Regions from separate parts of the Homo sapiens genome. Here regions 2, 3, 4, 5, 6 and 7 are each linked to region 1. The links are contacts of gene promoters, found by promoter capture Hi-C in human tissues and cell types (Jung and others, 2019). All regions are on one chromosome and are shown on one strand. Each heading gives the region's core, a stretch centred on a gene start or on the middle of the fragment in contact. The rest is flanking DNA. Distances are from core to core; before and after follow the strand shown.

Region 1 (3,331 bases), core at 832-3,331:
AAATTAGTGTGGAAGGTCAGACACAGTTAAGATAGAAGATTCTCTTTTCTTATATCAAGTGGAGTTCTAGACAAAAAAAAGTAAGACTCTGCATTTCCCCTGATAAATAAAAAGAAGTGTTTTGTATACTAACATCTGTGGATTTCTCTGTGTTCAGGTAAGACCCACTTGGAATGCTTTCCTATTACATCAAACGAGGCATTTCTCTATACCTCCTTCCATCTGACAGTACTATCGCTTAGCTGTCCCTGAAGAATAATAAGAAAAGAAAGCTTATATCCCCAATGATGGAATTAGAGACTGCTGAAGCTGCTGTAAAGGCTCTGTCCAACAAGTACCATTTACTTGACCTATTATGCAGGCAGCCAGGGGCATGTTGGTGTTTTGATATATTTTTCTTTCTTTTAACAAGACGTTACAAAAATGTTTTCCCCTTCAGGATTTTTAAAATTTAGGGTATCTTTCTAGCATTACTTTCTAAACTTAGTTCCAGTACAGGAGGATTCTTGTCCAACTGAGCCTCCATGTGCCTTCTAAAGGGAGTGCTGAAATTGTATAAACATCATGTTTACATCCATTAAATATTGTCCTATTAAAAGAAAATAAAGCCAGGCATAAGTTTGGTATCCAGACAATAAAATGCAAATAGTACAAAGGTAGAATAAAGTGAAAATTCTACACAAATGTAGCTTCCATACAAAAGTTAAACAGTTGCTTTATTTCACGAAAGGGTTAATACTGGAGAAAGTGAATATCAACATGTACACAAAGCTAACTAGAAGATTAGCTTTCTCAAAGTAGAAATCCAAGCCTCCCTATAAAATTGTTGTCCCTTGCAAATGTTTTGAAACTTTACATTTTTTGATCCCCCAACAACAGGCCATACCAAGAAACCTCAGGAAAGTAATAATCTATTTTAATTGTTTTTTTTTTTTTGTTACTCAAGAAAGCTTTCAAAGTTCAGATATTAACACTGATGTGCAATACCAAATTGTTAGCCCCACAGGACAGATGGAAACAGGAAAAGTCAGATGGTTGGCACTCAAAAGCAAAAGCAATTAAGCAGTTGAAAGTGGGTTGGATTGTCGGTTTATTTTTGTTCCATTTGAACGAATCAAGTGAGAGACATAGACTCTTGCAAGGAGGAAATCAAGTCAAACTTGACGCTTCCTCTCTCTGACAGCCCAAGCTGGACTGGTTGTCTACTCCCCTTATTCAGTTTAATTGCTTTATGTGCTCTGATTTTCGCAGAGCTTGTATTCTATCTTGTTTACGTTCCCCCCCCCCCCCATATCCCTCTCCCCAACAGAAAGAAATCTTTCTCCTTTCTTCACTCCCCCTCTTTCCTCTAAGAAAGGCAATCCTCTCCAGGAGGAGAAAGAAACGCTGTGCGTGCTTAGGGTGGGAGGAGGGCGAGAGGGGAGGTGTGGGAGAGAAAGAGAGAAAAGATTGAGATTGGGGGTGGGGGACGGAGGAGAGAGAACAAGAGAAGGAAAGAGGAAGCAAGAAGATGGGGGATGCCCAACATCAACTCCAGGCTCTAAATCACGGGCGCTGTGCAAAGTGCTTTTCCAGGAGATGCACATGTAGTCTCATATTTCTCACAATAGGCCACCCGGGGATCCCTCCCTAGGTCTCAGACTCCCACCACTAAAACCCAAGTGTATCGAGAAGAAAATCTTTGGGATGGATTCGAGCAGATAGGCACCGCCGAGGTGGCCGCGCCGCCAGTCCCGCTTCCTTACCTGGAGGGCGGACCGGGAGGTGGTGCCGGGTCTCGGTCCCCAGTGCTCTCCCCGCGTGGACCGGCGCGAGGCACACGCGTACTCTCGCTGCCTCCGCTCTTGGAGGGGCAGCCTGCAACACAAAAGGGGTGTGTGGGTGTGGGTGTGTGGGAGGTTTTCCAGGGCCACCAGCTGGTCCCACGTGGTCGCCCCCACCCTACACACACCCCTTCGGGGCGCCAAGCCCCCCTCTCGGCTGAGCACCACCCTGGGGACTTGCCCGGGGTGCAGCCTCAAGTTGCCGCTGCTAACTGCTGCTGCCGCTGCCGCTGCTGCAGGAGGAGGTGGAAAGACACTGGGGGCAGTACTCGGTCTAGAGCATCCCCACACTGCAGCTTCTCCAGGAATCCCTCCAGTGAGGAGGCGGCCGCCCATCATCTCCGAGCCCCAGCATCCTGATTGGCTCCACCTCGGGTACGCTGCGCCAAGGAGCCAATCCCCGCGCACTAATAATAGGTGGATCCGTTCAGCCAACATCGCCCATCCCAGTTCTGTTAGTGTCTCTCCATCCCCACAGCGGACAGGGACCTGGGAAGCGGGGTGGAGGCGGGTTGGGGGAGGGGGTGAAGTAAGAGGGGAACAGATCCCAAGGAGACACAATCAAGGGCGTCTGATAAAACCTCTAGGTAGACTCAGGAATGCCCCACAAGCTGTTCAGCAAGCAGTATGCACAGGAGAAAGAGAGCATAATACAAAGCTTTTTTTTTTTTTTTTTTACTCTCAATCAAAACCTACCCTGATACTGAGCATGCCCAGACTGCAACAGCGACCTAGGAGTTTCGATGTGTGTGGGTTCGCCAGCTGTGGGTTTTTGAAAAGCTGGGACCGGGGACAGGAGAGGTAGAAGTTTGTCTTTGGCCATTTAACCCGGCGGAGTTGTGAAAGCTGGGTAGGGTGGGGATGTGAAAGGGTTCCGCACAAGTGTCCTCAAACTGAGCCGCGGGGAGGTGGCCCACCTGGCTGCCGGAGGCTCATCATGCTGTTCTTCTGGGGTTCCGGGTTGGAAGCGGGGGCGGGATAAGCTGAGCTTTGCTGGAAGCCTGGGGACTTCCCGCGAAGGGTGCGGTGGAGCCGAGATGCGGGAGAAGCAGCTCCGTCCCATAGGTGGGGCCGGGAGCGCGACTCCACCCATCAGCGGCGGCTGCCAGGCCGTGGAGAGTGCACTGGGAGTTTCCATTGCAGCGACCAATAAGTTTGTACACTTGGGTCAAGTGCAACATTGTTGGAGATGCTTTTTTATTTTTTCATTTTTATTTTTTGCCACCTCCCTCCCCCATCTCTCTCGACCCCTTGCCAGAGCAGTGACGACTAAAGCATAGATTCTCTCCCTGCTTCCTCTCTTCCCAGCTGAACCGTTCTGCTCGGAAGTAAGAAGCTTTTCTCTTGTGAGGGCGGTGGTGACCTGATTGTCTCTAAGCTCTCAGGCAATTTATAGCTTGGTAATACCGAAATACCGAACAGGAAGGCTCAGCGGGTGGGGGAAGGGACCGCGCGCCAGGCTAGGGGCGGGAGCGGAGCCCAGCTGGGAGAGGGGCCCGTCCATTATC
Region 2 (3,785 bases), core at 36-2,535, 360 kb after region 1:
AAAGTGAATAAGGGAAGCATATATTGTACAGGAAATTGACTGGGGTAACATATTATAAGGCCAGCATGTGATTAGACTGTGATTTTTCATTTGTACTTTCTGCCATTCAGATAGAATTAGCACTAAATGTGGATGGCAGAGAAGCATAGAAAAAAGAAAACCAATTCTATTTTGCCAACTTTTTATTTTTTTAATTCCAGAAACACTACTCTCACTTTTTATTATCAGGAAAACTGCCTATAGTTTATATTCTCTGTTGACTACAAACAACAGTCATGGGATCTAAGATTTCTGATGTATCTTATGGCTTTTCATGCACAAAGAAAGATTTTAATAGTTTTTTTTCCATTAAATCAATCAACAAGTGACTGTTTTACGGTCCATAATTGAAGGGTGAAACAAAAAGAAACTTAGTTGAATTATTTCAAACAGATGTGGGATTGAAAAGATCAAAGCAGTTTTAATCTTCTAGGCCACTGACCCTGTGGTGGCAGTATTTTGTTTGAATAAAGATGTATACAGAGAAAAGAGTATGGGTTTTGGAGCCAGATAGATCTGGATTCAAATTGGCCTCTGACATTTTCCTACTGTGTACTCTCAAGAAAGTTGATTAACCTCTTTGGTTTCCAATATTCTCATTTGCAGAATGGAGATATTCATTCCTGTAGTTGGTTAGAAGGTTGAATTGATGTGCGCATATAAGTCATCCAGATCAGTGATTGTCAAGTAGCTTTGGCTTCATACATACTAGTTTCCTTCACCATCTTCCAATTCTTAGGATGGGATTTGTTTCTCTTCAATAACTTAAAAACGTTTTTAGATGATAACAGCAAGGCAGAAAATCATAGTGTCATAGGAAAAATAAAAAAGACATAGTAAAATAATTCATTTTTTTCTTTCTTTTTTTTTCAGACAGAGTCTCTGCTCTGTCGCCTAGGCTGGAATGCAGTAGGGCAACCACAGCTCAATATAGCCTTGAACTCCTGGCCCAAGCCATCCTCCTGCCTCAGCATCCTGAGTACAGGCATCACCACCACATATAGCTAATTCTTAATTCCTTGTAAAGACAGGGTTTCACTATGTTGCCCAGGCTGGTTTCAAACTCCTGGCCTCAAGTGATCATCTCACCTGGTCTCCAAAAGTGGTGGGATTTCAGGACTGAGCTACTGCACCTGGCCATTAATTCATTTTCTTATATTCAGCCAAGTTTAATTGACCTCCATATATGTGTGTATATATATACACACATGTGAGGTTAATCAACTTTCTTGAGCACACACGTGTATGTGTGTGTGGAAATACAGAGGCAGAGACAGGGAGGAGGAGATGGGGGAGGAGGAGAAGGAAAATAAGTAGTTTCTATGCGTTAAATCATTAGAAAAGTAAGATCTCAAATTTTAGAACAGTATCAAAGTATAGTCATAACTAAGTACACCTATCTATCATTAGTACATCTTTTAAGAAATATAAAGTCATGGCAACTTTATATTTGACTCTATGCCTTACTGCAATAGGAGTATCTAAATAATCCAGATAATCCAACATGCCTAGACTGTCTGGTTTTCCAAGCCTTCCATAATCCTGGCTTTATTTTGCTGATGGTTCTTCATGCCCACTAATCTATAATATGTATTTTTTGCTCAAATAGTTTCACCCTCTCATAATCCTACAAATGTGCCAAAAATTTGTCTTGATTCTGTTTATTAAAACATTTCATTTTTCTAACCTGAAACATCTTCTTACCTTTTCTGTTTACCAAAATATAATCTGCTAGCAAAATCAAGCTTAATATGTGCATAAAATCATATTACATTATTTTCAACATACAGTTTCTCAAACGTTTATCCAGGGTAATTTTTTTTACTAACATAGAGAAAAATAAGAACAAATCTTTTCCAATAGTCTATCAATATAAAGATCTAAGTAATAGTCTGGTTTTTATTATTTATTATATCTGAGTTTCCAAATAAGTTTTTATCTCAGGTTTTTGGAGACAAAACTAATTTCAAATATCTGTTTGCGGTCCCCATAAACCATTAAAATATCCTAAAAACTCCATCATTACAGCACTTAAACTACCTTTCCCAGACAGTTTCTCATATCCAGTAATGGCACAAAAATAATTTATTGGAACATGGGTCCTGATTTTGGTTTTGTAACATATGGTTATACATTTATATAACACAATACAGCACTTTAAAATAGATGGAACTTGCATAATTTGCATAGGCTTGCATGCTTGCCAATATCCTCAGGCTCTTTTGTATTACCTCCTTTGTATATTAAAATTGCATTGTTTAGGAATTATACCTAGAGTTCATCTGGGATAGAACAGACCCCTACTAGTTGCTTGCTGATTAACTAGATTGATTATTGATCTGATTGGATGGAAAAACAGAATGAAGTTTCTATTAGAGCAAAGCTTCTTAAGGTCAATGATTCTATGAATATAAAATTAATAATATAAACCATTCTGAAAATGGCTGAAAATATCCAGCTAAAGTAACATAGAAGAAAATAAAACATCAATTTCTGATTCCATGTTTTTCTGAAATTTATGAATTTTTGATCATCTTCTATAAACAATGAAAACTACTAATTTGTGCAAACTCAGAACTTTCTCCCCTCTGCACTAAGAAGTGATCACTTCCGTGCTCTCCAGGCCTCACACCAAATTGATAATACACTATGCTTGCAGCAAAAAAATGGTTCTCCTGCTTTCAGGGTTACATCAGAAATCTTTCTTTCTCACTTCAAAAATAGTAAAAACATAGCCTAGAAAATTGCTTTGGAGGTGAAATAGCAAGACCTTTGTTTATGAGAAAAAGACCAAGTGTGTCATTCTCTTGCTCTGCCCTGGGCCAAACATGTTTATGTGCTGAAAGGGAAGAATCCTCTTCTTCTTACCTAAAAATGTATAGCTTTGTACATGTGCCCTATTTAATATCCCCTTGGGTTAGAGCTGCTCTACATGCTCAATTTGACTGTTTTCACTCAACTGCTTCCGATTATTTATATATTTTTTAAAAGCCAAGGCAGTTTGTGCATAATGTTAAAGTCTAATGGAACATTCATGTTTTATATTATATAAATTTGCTTATAGTTTTTTCTACATCAATGGTATCTCTCTCCTAATAATTCCCCAAATTTCTAAGAAATCATTTTTAAAAGTAAAATATTTGTTTGAACTGAGACTAGGATCTCAAAGACAAGATGTATGAAATATCTTAAGAAAGCAGTTTGGAAAATTTCTTGTCAAGGATGATTCCATGACCTTTTCTATTTAAAATCTATAGGAGGGCTTGTCATTTATCTGAATTAGGAAAATGATTACTTGAATGTAGAAAAAAAAGAAATGTTGCTTGTTAAAATTCATGATTCATATAAATAATAAATTTATATTGTTTTCTTGTAGGGTTTAGTAAGAGCCCTATGATTATACTGGGATAGACATTATATTGTAAACAATATTAGTCAATTTAATTGAACGAATTTATTACGAAAATGTCAATGACTCTTTCCTTCCTGTTGGAGAAACAAAAACTTCATGAAGTTCTATACTAAGAACAAGCTTTTCTATGTCCTGTCTGAATTGTAGAGATTTATATGAAACAGTTATTCCCAGCAGATACAAGTAAAGTATATGGTTTACAAACCTTGAGGCAAATCTTAAAATACATGGTCTATGCCATGTATTTAAATTTTACCCAAATTTTATCCAATTGGTTTAAAAAAGCAACTGATTATCCTAGTTGACTGGAAAGACAGCTCTATTTTATTTTATT
Region 3 (3,369 bases), core at 321-2,820, 390 kb after region 1:
ACATCCCTTGCCCAAGGGGATCTTCTAAATTTAGGCCTGCATATTTCCTCATTTGCTCTTTCAGTCTGTTTAGGAATTCCAAAGGGCCTTCATCCTTTCCTTGCTGTATATCAAATGCTTTAGAGAGATTTTGAGTCTGGGGCACTGATTCCCGAATTCCTGTTATTATCATTTCCCTTAAATCTTGCATAATTTTCCCAGTGGGCCACATTGTTATTGTCCCACTGGGGGTCTTGGGCAGGGAACTTTTGGTCCGTGGTAGGAACATTTTGACCAGGAAGATGTTCACATTCCCAGACTACCATAGCAGCCCTACCGATCATACTTCTTTCCTCCCCAAAAAGAGGATACCTAAGATGGACTTTAATTCGACCCAAGTATATAACTGAGGTCCTAAAAATTGATCAATTTGATCTGCCACTCTATAAGGGTCATGTAACAGTGGTTTGAGTTCTTTTTTTAAACTTCAAACTTCTGAACCGGTGAGGAGAGCATTTATGAACACAATGGCTCCCCCTCCCTGTGGCACCTCTCTTAAGGGGAAGAAAGTTGAAATTGATACTTGGGTGGCAGGGGCAAGGGAAGTTTTGCATATCCTTTTTGTATTGCTCTGTCTCATGTTGGAGTCCTCTTAGGGACAGGTAAAGGACAGGCTCATGAGATGCTAATTCCAAAGAGTCGGGGTTGTAAGGAGGAGGGATAATGTGAGCAGTGGAAGGATCTAGAATGGGATTTATCATGGCAGCTGCTTCCTGAGGGGAAGGGTTGTGGGGTACCGAGTGGGGGAAGATGGTCTAGGGGATCCCATGCATTAGGGTCTTTAGGCATGGGGACTAGCTTGTCTGACTTCTCCTCTTGAGGTGTTAAGTTGAAATTTTCCCTTGTTTTTAAGGGAAAAAGGAGGACAGGTACCTGTTTCCAACAAAGCGCATTGTCCAGTTCTTCTTGAGAAACCAAACTTCTATCATTTAAATATTGAACTAAAAGCTGACACATTACATCCTCATTTGACCCAAACTTCGGCCAGAAAATTGAGGGTTTGAGGATGGGTCCCTGAATCCCAATAATACAGCAATACTTTATCATTTGTTGCTTTTTCTTATGTTTAGTACTTTCATTATCTTTCCAATATTTTAACATGAGAACCAGGGGACTATCAAGGGGAATATGATTTTTGTTAGCTCTATCCTTCTTACTCCCTGCCTTACTTGGGGTATTTCCTATCTTGGGTGCTGGTTAAGCTCAATCCCTCATACTAGAGATTTCTTGCCCTCCCTTCTTTAGAGGCTGGCTGAGGCATAATCCCTTGTACTAGAGATTTCTTGCCTTCCCTTCTCTAGAGGTTTAACCCCACCTGCTGCAGGTTCCTTGCATTCTTCTCCTTTTGTTTCATCTTCTCTGGCCACTTCCCCAGAGGGAATATTTCAGGTTCCTCTTAGAATTGGCAGGTCAGTATAAATCCCTGAGGGGACCCCCGAAGGGCTGCACTAAGCTGTACGAGGTGACCACGGAACTGCAGATTGGACTCACTTCACATAGCAGTAGTGCTTGTTACCATTCATGCACTTTAAACCTCCAAGATATCCCCAACCCCCAAGGAGATACTTTGTTGCCCCTGCAACGTTTCTTTCTTACCTTGGTCTGTGCACAGAATTACCTGGTTGCTGCAGTGTTGATAGACAAAACTTTTTCTCCCTGCATTGCTGAGAGCCTGGATTTATTCATCACAATGGGTAGGTCTTGATCTCCAGCCCCTGAGGCCAAAGCAATGAGGCAGTGTGACATGTCTCCTCCCAGGAGGTGACCAGAGACCCTTCCCTGGAGGAGAATGGGATCCCACACAAGCCCCCAGAACTGTTGGAAGTAGAGCTTGGAGTCACAAAGAAAATGAGCAGTTAAAGGATTTCTCATCAATGCAAAATTTACTTCTGCAGAAGAGTGCTGCTTACAAGTCTGGTCATGACGAGAGTGCACTGAACAAAGGAGGGAAGGGGGTTTTTATCCCTCCACTGGCTGAAGTTGAACCGCACAATCTAAGCTGAACTCGATTGGCTAACTTGAAAGGTGCAGGAAAGTGGTTACACTGGCAAGAAGGGCATTTTTGGTGGGAAGAGCTATTGTGACAGTAGGAGTAATTTATAGAGTGGGTAGCAGATGTGGTCTCTGTAGATAAGGACCAGTGGGAAGGTTGTTTACTGAAACTAAGACAGGCACAAAGGATAAGGAAGTTTGTCTGCCCTTGGAAGTAGAGAACAAAGAACAAGGGTGCTTAACAAGCCAAACCTTTGAAGAGGAACTTCTTTTGTATCTGACATTGTCAATAAAGGAATGGGGGGGATCATGAATGGGAGGCAAGAGGTGGAGGTGGAGGTGAAGGCAGGGAAGAGCTAGTATCAAAATTATCCACTACTTTTGGGGTTAAATCACTTTTAAATTCTTAGAGTTTCTTAAATTCTTAGAGTTTCAGAGGATGGCATGGCAGTGATTTGTCTGTAATAGACAGAGGCTTGTGCACTGAGCTGAAGCTTCTCAAGTATAAGATGACTTAGAAACCCAATAATTAGTGTGCTCTGTCAATCTCTAGGCCCATCACAGAAACAAATAAATTTAAGTAGACTGTCGACAGAAAAAATAATAAAATCCAGAAGACAACCTAGATTGATGACCTAAGAAAATCATAAATATGTGGATGCATCTAAACAAGCAATAAATGTATAATGCAATGGTAATAATAATTTGGGGGCTAAAACCAAAATTGTTCTGCTACAATTAAAAGACTGGGAAACAATAATATGTAAACTGAAAAAGTTGTTGGGTGTAAAAAAATTACTAAATTGTTCAGAAGAAGCTTAGAAATATTAATTTACTTTAGACATAGCTAAATATGCATGTTAAATGTTTATGGCCATTGATTAAAAATCAAGGTATAACTTACAAACCAGTAGAGCAACACATATATAAATATCTCAAGCATTTCAAATGAGGTACTCTAATATTAAAAAGAAAAAGCAACATATATATTGAAAGCTAGGTCTAATAATACTAAATGCAAGTATATTGATAAACAGTAAATATTAAGTAAAATTATCAGTTAAAACAGGTATTTTCACATTGGATTAAAAAGATTTACTATATTGAATTTATAAGAGACACTTTTTAAACATAAATAATCAGAAATATTAAAAATTAAGGGTTGTAACAATCAGATATAGCTATATATAGTCTACTATCAAACATAATAGACTTTAAAAAAATTACTGAAGATAAATTGAAACACAGCTAATTTAAAATTTTAAATCATAAGGATTACATAATTCTAAATAGTTTGCACTTAATATAGATTTTAAATGACAAAAGTAAGAGAATTAC
Region 4 (3,313 bases), core at 222-2,721, 400 kb before region 1:
GTACTGAAGTATCTTTTTTCCTTTAGAATGATAGTTCTAAACCTTTTTTGAATCATATGTCCAGTTTAAAATATGATAAAAGTTGTGGACTCTTCATGGGAAACTGCATATATCCGTGTGTGCATTGTGTGTGTGTGTGTGTGTACTTTTTCATACAGTTGGTAATATGTGGTACCCGAGTGCAGATTATTGTTCTCCAGGTCTGGAAGACAACTGGACTCCAAATTAAAAACCTGTTTCTCAGAGCATCAAGGCAAGACACACCAAGGCCAAAGGAAAAACGTATTCCTGCATCAGATCATTTAACCGTTCATTTCTTTCCTACTGACAATCTGCTGTGTGTTTAAACTATACAGGGGTGGAGTGAGAGAACTTATGCAGAGGTGGAGTGAGAGAACAGAGAACACAGAAAGGATGGTTCCCTTTCCCTAGGAGCTTAGAAAGACTAACTCCCAGAAAATAAAACTAGAGATAGGAGGCAATACAGTTAAGCACAAAATTCAGTGGAGCAGAAAGGATTTATAGGTAGCTGGTTAGAGAAGGGCAAGATATATATATAAAGCTCATGGAGAGGGACTTTATTTACAATAAAAAAATTCTCTGTTTCACAGTTTTCTACCTGTAAATTAAGAGAACACTACCTGCCTCACAGGATTGCTGTAAGGATTAAGCGAACAAATGTATGAAAACATTGAGCCCAGAATCTGGCATTCAATAAATTTATTGATATTCAATAAAAAAAAAAAAAAGAGAAGGGCAAGATAAAAGGGGCCTGGAATTCAAAAACGACTTCATGGAGGAGCTACGTTCTGAGGTATGCTCCAAAGCCCTTCTTGCTCCACGGTGAAAATAGTATTTGGAAGACACCGTTTCTTTTCCTACCTGCCTCTCTTTCATCCTTTCTCTTTCCTTCCTTTCTTTCCTTTGGTTTTCAGACTCCTTTTAATCTAATTTGTCAGCCAGTGATTACTCTGTTAAACAGAGCTTTCAATATGATACAGACTTATCAAAATCTGCATTAGATTTTTCTATCATAGTAGATGAAAAGATGTTTCCTTGTAGTAAATTCATGTAGCCTTCTCCAAATAGCCTTCAGAATTGTCTCCTTAAGAATACATGTCACATTCTCCTCCCACATAGCTCTATTTCTCTTTTCAATTTGTGTTCCTGACAAAGAGGAAACTGGAATATATGTCTGTGCAAAAATACTGTAAAAATGCTCCAAGCCATTGACTTGGGTCAGTTACCTGTGACTTTTTAGGGCAGATAAATTGTGGTTAACAGTAATCTAGAAGAGAGACTCATTCATTCATTCATTCACTCATTCATTCACTCATCCATTTGAACAAGTTTGAAATAATTTATTAGTTTACAGTCTGCTTGGGCAGATTTGACTAACATATATGAAATACTGTGAAAAATACCACATATCATCTTAATTCCAAATTAAAGGGTTAATGATTAATCCATGGTTAATGGATTTTGATTCTGCTATATAGTCACGGCAAACTTATTTTACATGTCAAATGAATACAATTTTTTCGATGATTTTTTAAAAATCCTTAACATTTAATAGAATCGTAAATCTGCCTCTCTTTGCCCATAAACTCAACTGTCAATACATCAAAACTTTAGTAAAGTATATCATATTGTTTTGATATACACAAAGTCACAATCTATGCTTCGATAAATTTTTACCAGATCCTCTACCCTTTGATCTGATTTCTGTACTTCCTGTGCTGTTGAACAAATTCACAGTCCCTACTGAATAACTTATTAAGGTTACTGATGTTTCTCACTGCAGGCAATGATTAGTCTTGATGATGGAAGTTAGTTGAATGAAGGACGTTTTATCTGCACATGTATTGGTCAAATAATTAATTTTATAAAATGCCTATAATAATATTAGTCTGCTTTAAATGATAAGGCAAAGCCATCTATATCTTCACAGTATTGGAATGTCTGACATTTGACATGCAAAATGATGGGTCTTCAGGCAGAGATAAACCCCAGCACAACTTTCAGAGGATTTAGATAAGCCTCCACAGTCAGCCCAGGAGCTTGCTGTCTGCAGGCTCCAGGGAGAAGTGCGCTGGTAAACGTAAAGGATGCCAGGTAAGTTGGCAGAGGTGAAGGCAATTCACAGGCTAATCATCTGAAGCCTTTGGAAGTTTGTAACAGTTTTCATTCATGCTGTGGACAACACAATATTGTGGTTAAAGGGAAATCCATTCATCCTATGAAATTTTCAGTATGTCTTTCTTGAGTTCTGATTTCTAAGTTCAAAACTAAAAACACATAACCTCTTAGTCTTTTTTTTCTTTTGTCAAGGAAGCTAACTTTCTTTTCAACTTTTACGTTAGAAGACTTCACAATAGGCAGCTCTTGGATTCTGACCCAATTTGTATTTGGCTTTATTTTGACACTTTCAATTTGGTTAACAATTTTGTTAACCTGTTTTCCAACTTTGGCAAAGATGCCTGAGAAAAAGAAATTCATTCCAAGAATTGAACATGGCCCCTGTTGATAGCTTCTGAATAATTCAATATCTTAATATCTACTTTGTTTCTTTTCTAAGCAATTTAATGTTATTGAGATTAAATTCAATTATGATAAAAGATTATCAGCTAAAGGGGCAGATATATTCCCTGATATTTTATAATTTAAGGCCAACAGCTATAAGCAATAAGTAAACAAAAATGCCTTATTACTTGTTTTTTGGAAGGATTTTTTTTCCTCCACTACCTTTCTTTTAAGATTCTAGAAACAAGTGAGGACGTTTTTAGAATTCTCTGTAACTTGGAAAGATTTGATTGCATTGACAGCAGAATTGCATGGCTGCTATGCTTGGGTGGAGAAGAACAGGGCGTTTGAGTCTTTACAGTCATGAAAGGGAAGATTCAGGCTCATTAATTTCATTACTATACAAAGTGACAGGTAGGCAACAGTGAAAACAAAGCCCCTCACTTGCCTAAGTATCCACGGGACATTTTTCTTTGATTATCCAATGGATTTGTGCTGCTACAGACCAAGCTTATTAATTTTCCTCCCAATCTGTAGTTTGCTCTGTTTTTGTCAATCAGTTTCTCTCCATGGCAATTTTATCTGTCCAATTTTCAAAGTGTAGCAGCAGTTTTTCTTTTTGTTTCCTGGCTTTTAAACTGTCAACTTTATTCTACAACTCCCATGATCCTTGATTTATTGTCTGTTCTTGCGTCTGAAGGGACTTCCCTATACCTGTCAGTCTTTTACACAGTTACTTTTTCTTCATGATTTTTTTCTTTTACCATCATATGCCTCTTCTGTTTAGAGT
Region 5 (3,599 bases), core at 549-3,048, 310 kb after region 1:
CAACTTTATATGATTCTCCCTACTTTGTAGTCAGATCTAGTATAGTCCTGACCTGGTAAAGAGCTCCCATTTGATAAAATCCATGTTTTTAAACTAATAGTAATAAAAGTAAGCATTTTGTTTTAAAATTTGTGTAAAATTTCCCTGGAAAGGGAAATTTACTGTAAAAAGCATGACAACTTAAAAACTGAGCTTAGCACACTAACTAAACTACTGGAGAGTAAAAAGGAAGAGAGAGGGAAATAATAAAATCCAATAAAGCCTACTACAGTGTACTCCTGTGGCTATTTTGCAGAGGATAGAATTCAAAGCAACGGTAACTTAAATTTGAGGACCCTCTTCTCAGAGTCTACCTTGAGCAGAGTTGACGAGTGGGCAATTTGGCTTTTGATTTATCTTAAAAGTCTACAGCTGTTTCTATCACCTTGAAACTCTTTTTCTCAACTGGAGGTTACTGGAGTCTTGTTTCCATATGCCTTCCTAGAACTTCCATTTCTAACAATTTTTCATTATCTCTAACTTGCCTCTCTTACTCCCGCAGCTATGTTTCTGTCTCTATGCTAATTTTAGCAGATTATGATATTATAAAACAATTGTATCTGTCAACTGAAGTAAAAACATCTGTTAGAAACACAATTCGGATACTGAATTTTAGGAAATACAATATACATAAGATACATCTTTGTTTTTCGGTATCTCACTGTCAAGTATAGACAAATTATAATAGATGGTCTGATAAATGCATTAAAAGACTAAAGGAGAACCTTGTGAGAGCCCTGAGGAAGGCAGCTCCCCATTCTGGGAGATTTAGGAAAGGGTCCACAGAGGAAGTAATCTTATGCTGAGTTTTAAAAGGTGAGTACATTTGTCAGATAAATGCTGTAGTAGGCAGGAAGGGAGAGAAAATGTGCATTCCAAGCAGAGAATTGTACTTTCAAAGGCCTAGAGCTATGAAAGGGTACTAAAAGATTTAGAAGATGCTAGAAAATAAATATGACTAAAAAATAGAAAAATGAATCCCATCATTTACTTTCTTACCAACCCACAATACTTTTGTTTTAAAAGCTTCTGAACCAAATAAGGGTTGCTATAATGACAGAACATCTGACTACATGAGAGCGTACAGTGGGGGAAAGTTTGGACTATATGAATGTGGAATATTTTTGGTCAAGGGGAACCTACAACATGAGTATCCTTAAACCTGTCTCCCAGATCATCTTCCTCAATCATCCCTCACTGTCAATGTGGAACTTATTACCACCATCAATCTATTCTAGTGTCACAGTTGACCTTATAACTGGTTGAACTCATGTCCGTCTCTTACATATATACTCTCATTTACCACTGTGCTTAGTATATGAGCAAAAAAGTAATGTATTTTCCTCACCCATCTCAAGGTCCATGACTGATATTCCTAACAGATTTAAGAGAAGAAACAGATTTGTAAGAGAAAAGCACAATACATTTATGTAACAAAGTTTCACATGAAATAGAACCCTTCAGAAATGAAGACACAAAGACCCAAGGAATACTGTATATTTTTATGTTGGATCGACAAAACACATGGATATTTGCAGAGAAATTTGACTGGACAAAAAGAACATGATGGTAATAAACTGGGGGAAACCCTGCAAAACCTGTTTGTTCAGATCCTTCTTAGCCTCTCTTTTTTAGGCTATGGTTTCGTAGAGTCATCCCTTCCCCTGAGGTATAGGACAGGACACTTGTCACACAAGGGTCATATGAACTACTTTCAGGGGAGGTAGGTCAAAGAGTGACCTTTCTAGGTTTTATGGCTTGCGTTGGAGGATAGGAGTTCTGTGACCTGCCTTGGGGAAGAGAAATTCTTATTTCTGTGATTCATGTTGGAGGATAAAGGAGTGTGCAAGAAAAAGTACTATGAGAAGGTCAGAGACTGTCTCTTCTGAGGCCCTCCTGATTCCCTTCAGTTTACAGTACTCAGCATGTCAATGAGCCATACTTTGGGGCATCATTTTCTGAGGCCCTACACTATTACAAGTTCATAATTATATATGAAATTGAAAATAGATAGATCTCATTGAATTAAACTCTAAGCAATAATAATGAAAATATGTGTTGACATTTAACATAACCCTTAGGCTTTCTATTTATTCTTCTTTTCAATACCCAGTGAGGTGGGTATTGTTTTCATTGAATATTTGAGTAAAGTGAGATGCAGGAAAATATTCATGTTGTTTCTTCTAAAATATTTAATCACGCTAAAACACACTATCATTGAAATTGTTTACTCGACATTTTGATGTCAAATTATTTGTAAAAAATGTTCTTTTTCAAATGTGTGACACAACTTTGTGCATTTGTGTTTTACAATGAAAATTGTACTAAACAGTTCCTGCAAAGAAGAGGAAAAATGCAAAATTTTTGAAACGATGATCATTCATTACAAATTCTTCTGAGTTTGTTCCAGGAACTGTGAACCATCTGTACCATGTCAACAGCTCAGGTTGTGTTTGCAGCCACGCAGCAGAATGCGAAGTACCAAAATATGCAATTAGTTGTGACCTGTGTAAATAATTTATTTATGTCAGGGAAGCAGAAATTTCAGGACTGAGCCTCCTTTAAGAGTCATCCAAAAAACTGTAGGTTTTTCTCTCTTTTGTGAGGTATATTTCTATAGCATTCTCTTTGCTCTACAGGTAATGCTATCAGTGTATTACAGTTTCATCAAGGAAATTGTCTGCATAAACATTTTGATTATTTTAGGTTAAGACTAATGTAGATTATCACAGAAAAGAGATTAACAGGCATATTAATAGGTTACAGATCTATCAATATTTTTTAAGCTATGAGGGAAACCAAACTTTTTAATCCTAAGTGCGTCTACTTAAGTTTATTTGTTATATTAATTGTAATAATGCCTGTCTATTTGTTGAAAGAATACCTTTCACAGAATAAATGTAGTTTTGCTTCTATCAGGTCATATTTTGTTAAACTTTTGATTTATTGTCTTATACGTCTTTATTTAAAATAGCCTATAATTCTATAATATATTTGTTTCCTCAATATCTGAATGGATGAGACATAGCTTTGCTTTCAACGTAGTTTTATGTATGGTTTTATAGATTCAACATCATTATCCTCCTTCAAGTAGATAATATCTATTGTACTCTCTCAGTAATGGCATGAAACCACTGTTGGGTAAGTCCAGTTGGTTGTTTTACTCAACTTCTAAAACCACCTGGGAACTTATAAATAAGCCTTGTGTTTCTCTTAGGTATGAACTTAATTTGCTAGGACTTCACTGTATACTTATAAGAAAGAGTACAGTTAAGTGTAGACATTAAACTTGATGAGAATCTTTGCAAATTTGGTCATTCAAATAGAAGTTAAATGAAGCAAATGATTTGCTCTATGGTTCAAGAGCTATGCAAAAGTTAACCCAATACTCCTACTCTCTAAATCTTATACTGTGAAAAAACCTTATTCACAGATGGATTAAAAGAAGCATGCAATCTTAAAGCTGAAATGGACCTTGGAGTCTTTTAAAATAAAACAATAAGAACTCAATAGAAATTCCCAAATTGGCAGCAAGTCCTTGTTTAACTACTTTCTTCAAC
Region 6 (3,576 bases), core at 999-3,498, 330 kb before region 1:
TAAAGGTCATCTTGGTCACCTTCAAAACAAGTGTCTCTTCCTCCTTTGCATCCTTTCCCCACCCTCCACATTGTAGATATTAACGATAGTAAACTTCCAGACCCTCAGTAGATGATGCACTTCTTGTTTCATCCTCATCAGTATTCCCCGAGTAATGAGCATCTGAGCCTCCAATGTCCTGTACATGGGGTCAGAAATTAAACTCTTCTCACTTTATCCCTACCCATCCTGAAGACAAAAGGTCTCCTTTGGCATCTGCATAGGTCAATTCAGGCAACAAATAAACTAGACTGTCTTAATGATATCAACTGGTAATTCTATCAAAGGAGAATCAAACAATGATTTTCCTACTCTGCATCCTTTTATTTTTAACTCCTTAGGAATAGATTTTGGTTCCTTTCATCCTATGTGATCTCTTTTCACTAAAACACACACTCCTGTTCCTTCTCACTCCTAGTCCTTGCTAGGTATTTCTGACATTCTTAGACCTTCAATCTCTTTCCTTTTTACTTGCACGCTTGTCTTCATTTCAGGTTCTTGCCAAAGCATCCCCCTAATGTTTTAACACAAGAATAATGCTAATGATACACATCTAAAGTTAAGGGGAAGTTATAGGGGTGGATTGATATTAAAAGTACCATTGTTTTCCCCTCAGGTCAGCTCCTAATGTCACCACTTAAAGGAACCTTTTTTATTTTTTTCAGGTAGAAGCAACATTTTTCTTCTGCACGGTTATGGCTACTGATCTCTGTACCTTGCTCATGGCCGTCACCATTTTGTGTCTTAAGTTGTGGTTATTCAGGTATATGTCCCATATTCCATACTAGACCAGCAAGTCCTCAGAGGTTACATGAGGATTAAAGGAGATGTTATGTATGTGTGAAGTCCCTGAAGCATAGCAATGTCCACTACAAGTTTTTGACAATAAAAAAGAAACAACTAACCATGCATTTTTGAAGTCTAGAAATGTCTTAAAATTCTTAAAATATCAACAAATGTCTCTACCTAGTCATCCTGGCATAATGAAACCCACATATCCTCATGTGTATAAGTGTAAGAGGAAGTAGAAGAAAAGAGAAAATGTTAATTGCATAGCAACTAAAAACAGGATGTCATAGTGTAATTATAAATATTTCTATTAGCAGGAATCATTATTATAAGGCTTTGCCTATTTTTATTCCCAAGGCTCTTCATGTACTTGGATCTGCTACTTCACTAAAAAAATTTCATGTGAATGTCTTTGAACAGCAAAATAGAGTTTTTACACATGTTCTTGGTAAGTTAAACTTAATGAGGAAAGAACCCTACTGTTGATGTACACTTAGAGATCAGGAATATCTATTCTATCCCCATATCTATGTTTCATCAAGACATTCCTTATTTTTATAATTGGTATGTAGTTACGTTGGTATAGTGTTTTTCTTGAATGAACCTGTGACCAATTTGAATTTAGGAATAATAACATCTGCAAAAATAAACAAATAATAAGATACATGAGAAATGGAGCAAAGAGTTTATACATATATATATATTTATATTTATGTTTTTTTCAGTACAAATTACTAGCCAGTAATATATGTATTATACAAGCATCTAAACCTCTAATCCTCTCTGCTCCAAGACTCACATTTTAATTATCTCATTGGTAAGTGAGAGGTAGAAATTTCTGTGCATAATTAGTTCAAGAAACAGGAACCTTGTTTTGTGAGTAGCTGCTCTCATTATTGGGGACATGGACACATCTTTGTAGATACAAAACATGTAATATATTACTCTATCAAAAGAATGATTGGGGGACACAAAGTTCTGAAAAAAAGAGGGGCAACTAGAAGTAAAATGATCAAATGCTATAAAAATTAGCCTTGCTAACAGAACTAATGAAAAGCTTTTTAACTCCATCAATCCATGATATTAGTGAATATTGACTGTAAGTGAATGAATACAAACTGCTTCTCAAATGAAGGGCATATAGTCTAAAATAGCTGAAAGTCATTTCTCTGAAAGGAGATCATTAATCTGGAGAATGAAACACTGATGTTTCTTCCTGGCGCCGGTGCTGTGGAGTACTGCACTAGGATGGTAACATGGAGATTGCAATGTATCGATTTCAAAAGTCATACTTTTCGCCAGCTATGGAAAGCAATGGGGTCAGAGCTCTGGCTTCTTACATTTGAAATGAAAATGTATGTGTGTGTGTGGGTGTTTTGATGTCAATTATTTTATGGTGCTCTTATAGGCCTTTTAGCACTAATTTTATCTAGTTTTATGTGAATTCCAGGCCAAATCTCAATAAGTTGCTGAGCTTTCTGAGAAAGTTGATTCTTCACAGGTGATTTTGACAGGAAAGAAGGTAGGGGAGTAACAAGCTGTGGTTCAAAAACTCTCTTTGACTTTATGGATTTGCATGCTTGAAAAATATATATGCATCATGTTCTAAAATTCTCTGGCAAGTTCGGAAAAGAAGAAATATAAATCAGATATTAATTGTAAAAATGATTCAAGAAACATGGACAGGTTGATTTTCTTCAGGATGTAGTGCTGCAGTTAATTATGCATTAGTCATCTAGACTGAAGGCAGAGGTCTTCCACCAGAGTGGAAGGCAAAATACAGTCCAGTGATTAAAAGAGTGAACTCTGGGGGAAAACACGCTCCCCTTTATATGCCACTTCCAGCACTTTTTCACTTGTGTGACTGTGTGCTTATTTAAGTTATTTATATTTATTTTTTTGAGACACAGTCTTGTTCTGTCACCCAGGCTGGAGTGCAGTGGCACGATCTCAGCTCACTGCAACCTCCGCCTCCTGGGTTCAAGTGATTCTCCTTCCTCAGCCTCCAGAGTAACTGGGTCTACAGGAATGAACCACCATGTCTGGCTAATTTTTGTATTTTTAGTAGAGACGAGGTTTTGTCATGTTAGCCAGGCTAGTCTCAAACTCTTGACCTCAGGTGATCTGCCTGCCTTGGCTTCCCAAAGTGCTGGGATTACAGGTGTGAGTCACCATGCTTTTCCTAGGTTAATTTTTTCATGGGTAAACCAGGGATAATTATATCTTCTATACTGTGTTACTGAGAGGAATAATTGAAATATACAAATCAAGAACTTAGTGTTTCTCATATAATAAACACTTAATAAAATGTCAGCTATTATACAAATATTTGGGAATTGTTCACATTTTTCAGTTATTTTAATTGTTTTACATAGCTATAATGACTTGAACATACCTCTGAATCAAACAATAGCTAAAAGTTATTGAAAGTCAACTAGGCCAACATCATTTGATAGAATTCCTTCTATAGTAGATACTGCAATGATCTCCATGTTACAGTAAGGAAATTAAAGTGTAGACAGACTAAATAGTTTGTACAAGACCACAGAGCTAGTAAAGTGATAGAATCTGAATTCAAACCCAAGAAGCTTATTGCAGAACTCTTTTTTAAGAAATAGCTTGAGCCTCCTAATTTTAGAGGAGGCAAATAACATTCAGAAAGGGATGGTTGCTTCCAAAAGTCAGAAAGCTAGATAGTGGTCTAGTCATCTTTTTACTCAGTTACAGTTTACTCCATTAGCTGTGCTA
Region 7 (3,803 bases), core at 668-3,167, 420 kb before region 1:
TTTTCTAATTTGGCTTCACCCGGTTAACTCCAATTTGATTCTAAAAAACTGAGACTCAGCTGTATCACAGTTTAATAGAACTCATTCAGGTGGGAAGGTCATATAAACAGAATTGAGCTGTTGTCAGTGATGCCTCCCCTTTGTTTGCTGGAAATTTCTTAGGAGCCTTCAGTGAGTTTTGAAAATTGAAAATTGCCATCATGATATACATCGGTGTAGAAACATTATCAAATTTGGTTAGCTACAAACCACTTAATTTGGAAAGTTTAATCTATGCTTCATTGTTTCTTTGAATGTTAAAATGTTGACTTACTAATAGCTAAAGGCAGGAAACAACATGAAAATATTTTAAAATTTATTTTAATTGTTTAATTTGTGAACAAGGGGCTTGGTCACTAAAGGTAACGTGATAGTAAAGTGACAAAAAAAAAAAAAAAAACTACTGAGTTTAATTAGAGAACTTCAGGCAGTGGAATCCCTTTGCCCTTTCAAAACCCTAGCTGTGTATAAGTCTTTAACACTGTCTTAGGTGTGCTCAGGAAATTGCAGCTTCGGTAATTTGCCTCCCTATAAGATTTTGGTTTTTAAAAAATAATAACAAGCTATTTAACATCTACTTCTGTTTGATAAATCTGCATGTTGCTCTATTATTATAATGAAAAATTCATTGATTAAAATACCTTTTTCAAAAGTCTCTTTCAGAACTGAATTTATGTATCATGTTTCAGCCCAATGCAATTTGAAATAGCTGATATATTAAATCTCCTTCTCCCTAAGTGGTTTTTACCTGAATAGAAGGCAGGACCATCTCTGCAATTATTCTGCATGAAATAGGGCTAAATTTTTGATAATTTCTCAGTGCTACTGTTCATCACTGAAGTGATTAAGTCTATTCCTGTCCCAAAGGCTGAGCTTAAGCAAGACATTTTCTGTACCATCATATTAAATTCAGACCTATTAAATCAGTAGCTATTATAATATCTCAAGAGCACTATTTTCCTCTTCATAGAACAAAATTCGGAAGAAAAAGCTTGTAAACCTAGCAGTACTGAGGTTTGATAAATTGCAGTAGAAAAAGCTGGGTTGGGAACATCAGACCTTATCTTAAATTTCAAAGATTAAGTGCGCATGCATATGGTTTGCTTTGACATTCAACAGGTGCTTTGTTTGCAACCATCAAAAGGAGCATTTGTTCATTCTCAGTTACATTGTTCAGATTTGGATTTAATAAGGCGCACTAGAAAAGTAGCACAAGGGACTGAATTTCTTTTTGTGTCCATCAACTTAAAACTTGAGCTTTCTAATACTGTTATATTTAATCTGTTAGCGTGTTTAAAATGAGAACACCTTATCTTTAAAAAAATCAATTTAGTTCAGCCTCTTGATGTGTGTCAGAATGATATACCCTCAGCTGTGGAGCCCCAGGTGCCAGGCCACTAAATGTATCTGAGCGTTGACTAGGGATGTCTAAGTAGCAGAGGAAACCTACCGCAAGGGACAGTCCAGAACAGTCATGAGACACAACACAGATAAGGACATAGAAGGAAGAAATAAAAATTAAAATATCCACACACATTAGTGAAAACCGTGGAGAAATGACCTTTCCAGACCTATGACTTTACATGTGAATATTTTCCCTCTGTCTGGTTAGTGTTCTCCAATTTTAACACATACAAAAGAACACATAAATATATATCTTATGCAACATAAATGTCTATACTTTTTGTAGTCATTGCAGAATATTTAAAAAAATCTTCCTTGGTTGCAAAACCTTACTATAGAGACATGTAGCCATGAATATTGAAATTGGAATTTCTGTGAATTTGATATGAATTAAAATGGTAAAAATGTATTGATTGTCCTAGAGCCTTTATATCTTGTATATAGAGCCTATATATAGATATTTCTTAAGATTAAGAAATTATATCTAAAATGCCTCTCACATCTGTCTTGTTTTTAAACGAGAAGGGCATAAGCCATCTTTATTTTCTTCCCCATGTTCACTTCAACATTCTGCTGAAGATATTTTGAAAATATAATTATTTAATAATAATTTTAATTTGTATTCATGCTGTTTTGAATTTTGGGTGATCTGGCGATCATCATGTGATGAAACATCCTCTTAAAATCTGCACATTCTATTTTGCTTTTTTAGCCTTCCTCTTCATAAAATGATGGAACCCATGATTAGCTACTTTTGTCTGCTTCAAAAAGTAGCATAAGCTATGGTTATATAAACGTTTATCCCTGGAGTGTATATTCATCTGTCCAAATTGTACCTTATTCTGTGAATTTAATTGTTCATAACTTACAAAAATTGAGACCTAGCTAATGTCCTATGTAGACAAAGTGCTCTACCTAAAATAACTGAAAACATCTTTTTGAGTGGTTGAAATTCTAAATAATTTGCAATAACAGATTAGTATAAACTATCACTGACTTCTTAATATTTCTTTGTTTGAATCATTTTCTCTGTCTCTCCCCATCCAAAAAATAGATCATCAATGAAAAATTAACCCCCATTAATTCTCTATATTTGAGATCTTGGTCATTTATCCAGGTCATAACAGGGGTAATAAACACCACCACTATGCTGTAAATTATAATTTTACATCATACAGAACAAATCCCACAAATATTATAGATTTATTGTCCTAGGAAGAAATGCTATCGTTATCACTTAACATTATTCAGTAATTTTAATTAGTTCTAGAACACAGGGAAACCACATTCAAATTTTATGATAATTATGAAAAAGATAGTGATCTATTGTCAAATTATTGTTTTCACAATATTGATAAAATTAACATACATATTATTCAGTCCATGTCCATCTAGGAGGTTATTTCCACACTTAATCTCCCAATAAGTTGTTTAAAGAAATCTTTATCAAGTCCTGCTTGCTATGAAAAGTGTGGAAATAAAGTAAGACATGCCTGGAAATTTTAGTTTCTACTTAAATTAACTGAAGAGAAAAATCTTTATTAGACACCTGTAGTTGAACGTTTATGCATTGGCTTTTGTGACTGTGATTAGAAATTGCCAGAAAAATCAAACCCTTGCTACTCCGAGCTCAGGCCAAAACTCTCTGAGTATGAGTACAGGCATTTCATCCATTCCATAGCTCCAAAACAGAACAAAAATGCAGGGAGTAAAACATGAGCCTTTGTGAAATTATTATCAATAGATACTATAGTGTCTTTGAGGAAAAAGAGTTTAAAACTGAAGCTGGGAAGGGGAGTTAATGTCCCTGAATGTGTAATGAACTAGGAAACAACGCAAATGTACTTAAAATGCCTGTTGTAACACCTGATTAAATTGTTCTTAAGGAGATTCAGGTTTAAGAGTTTGATTAATAGTAATTAATAGTATAAGAGGAATTTATAAAACTGCTTATATATTTTGCTATTTGGGAATAAATAAAACTTTTGTATTTGATGAAAACATTGATAATTGAAAATGTTAATTCTATAAAAAATCTGTACATTTACATTTTAATTTTAAAATATGAATTAAATATTCTTTAGAGATATTCAACATGGATATTATTTCAAAAATGAAGAGGCATTTAATAATTATCATTAATAATAGTAAACATTATCTTGAACCAAGTTGTCCAATTAATTTAGCCAAAAACAGATAGCAACATAAAGAACATCCAAATAGCTTTTTTGGGCTTGGAAAGATAACCCAGCCAGATGGATTTTATAACCAGTGTTATGGTTGTAATTGTCCTTATTAAATTGAAATGAGAATTTTGTCTTATAAGAAATAAGAAAGAAAACTTTTTCATAAGGCAAAAA

What was found. The method cuts DNA at HindIII sites, captures the fragments that hold promoters and counts their contacts. A contact is called where the count stands out against the background at its distance.
Region 2: a contact is called between a fragment that was not itself captured here and the fragment with the promoter of SYT1 in region 1, in 2 of the 25 tissues and cell types used here (dorsolateral prefrontal cortex and mesenchymal stem cells).
Region 3: a fragment that was not itself captured here is called in contact with the fragment with the promoter of SYT1 in region 1 in 3 of the 25 tissues and cell types used here (bladder, dorsolateral prefrontal cortex and neural progenitor cells).
Region 4: a contact is called between a fragment that was not itself captured here and the fragment with the promoter of SYT1 in region 1, in 1 of the 25 tissues and cell types used here (hippocampus).
Region 5: a fragment that was not itself captured here is called in contact with the fragment with the promoter of SYT1 in region 1 in 1 of the 25 tissues and cell types used here (dorsolateral prefrontal cortex).
Region 6: a fragment that was not itself captured here is called in contact with the fragment with the promoter of SYT1 in region 1 in 2 of the 25 tissues and cell types used here (H1 embryonic stem cells and dorsolateral prefrontal cortex).
Region 7: a contact is called between a fragment that was not itself captured here and the fragment with the promoter of SYT1 in region 1, in 1 of the 25 tissues and cell types used here (hippocampus).

The regions. Positions count from the first base shown.
Region 1 is chr12:78,863,524-78,866,854 of GRCh38, reverse strand. SYT1 (synaptotagmin 1) reads right to left here and starts at 2,081. Exons shown (of 11, transcript NM_005639.3): 1 at 1,746-2,081. RefSeq lists a silencer at 3,238-3,297. The HindIII fragment of the contact is 3,235 bases long and covers 1,717-3,331 here.
Region 2 is chr12:78,499,504-78,503,288 of GRCh38, reverse strand. No RefSeq gene overlaps it. Among named protein-coding and RNA genes, the nearest start is that of LINC02424, 140 kb to the right of the region's middle. The HindIII fragment of the contact is 3,425 bases long and covers 1-2,997 here.
Region 3 is chr12:78,475,778-78,479,146 of GRCh38, reverse strand. No RefSeq gene overlaps it. Among named protein-coding and RNA genes, the nearest start is that of LINC02424, 120 kb to the right of the region's middle. The HindIII fragment of the contact is 4,897 bases long and covers 1-3,369 here.
Region 4 is chr12:79,266,527-79,269,839 of GRCh38, reverse strand. All of the region lies in intron 4 of SYT1 (synaptotagmin 1), which reads right to left. Among named protein-coding and RNA genes, the nearest start is that of MIR1252, 150 kb to the left of the region's middle. The HindIII fragment of the contact is 3,828 bases long and covers 1-3,313 here.
Region 5 is chr12:78,549,905-78,553,503 of GRCh38, reverse strand. No RefSeq gene overlaps it. Among named protein-coding and RNA genes, the nearest start is that of LINC02424, 190 kb to the right of the region's middle. The HindIII fragment of the contact is 5,459 bases long and covers 1-3,599 here.
Region 6 is chr12:79,189,057-79,192,632 of GRCh38, reverse strand. All of the region lies in intron 3 of SYT1 (synaptotagmin 1), which reads right to left. Among named protein-coding and RNA genes, the nearest start is that of MIR1252, 230 kb to the left of the region's middle. The HindIII fragment of the contact is 6,639 bases long and covers 1-3,576 here.
Region 7 is chr12:79,286,527-79,290,329 of GRCh38, reverse strand. All of the region lies in intron 5 of SYT1 (synaptotagmin 1), which reads right to left. Among named protein-coding and RNA genes, the nearest start is that of MIR1252, 130 kb to the left of the region's middle. The HindIII fragment of the contact is 6,617 bases long and covers 1-3,803 here.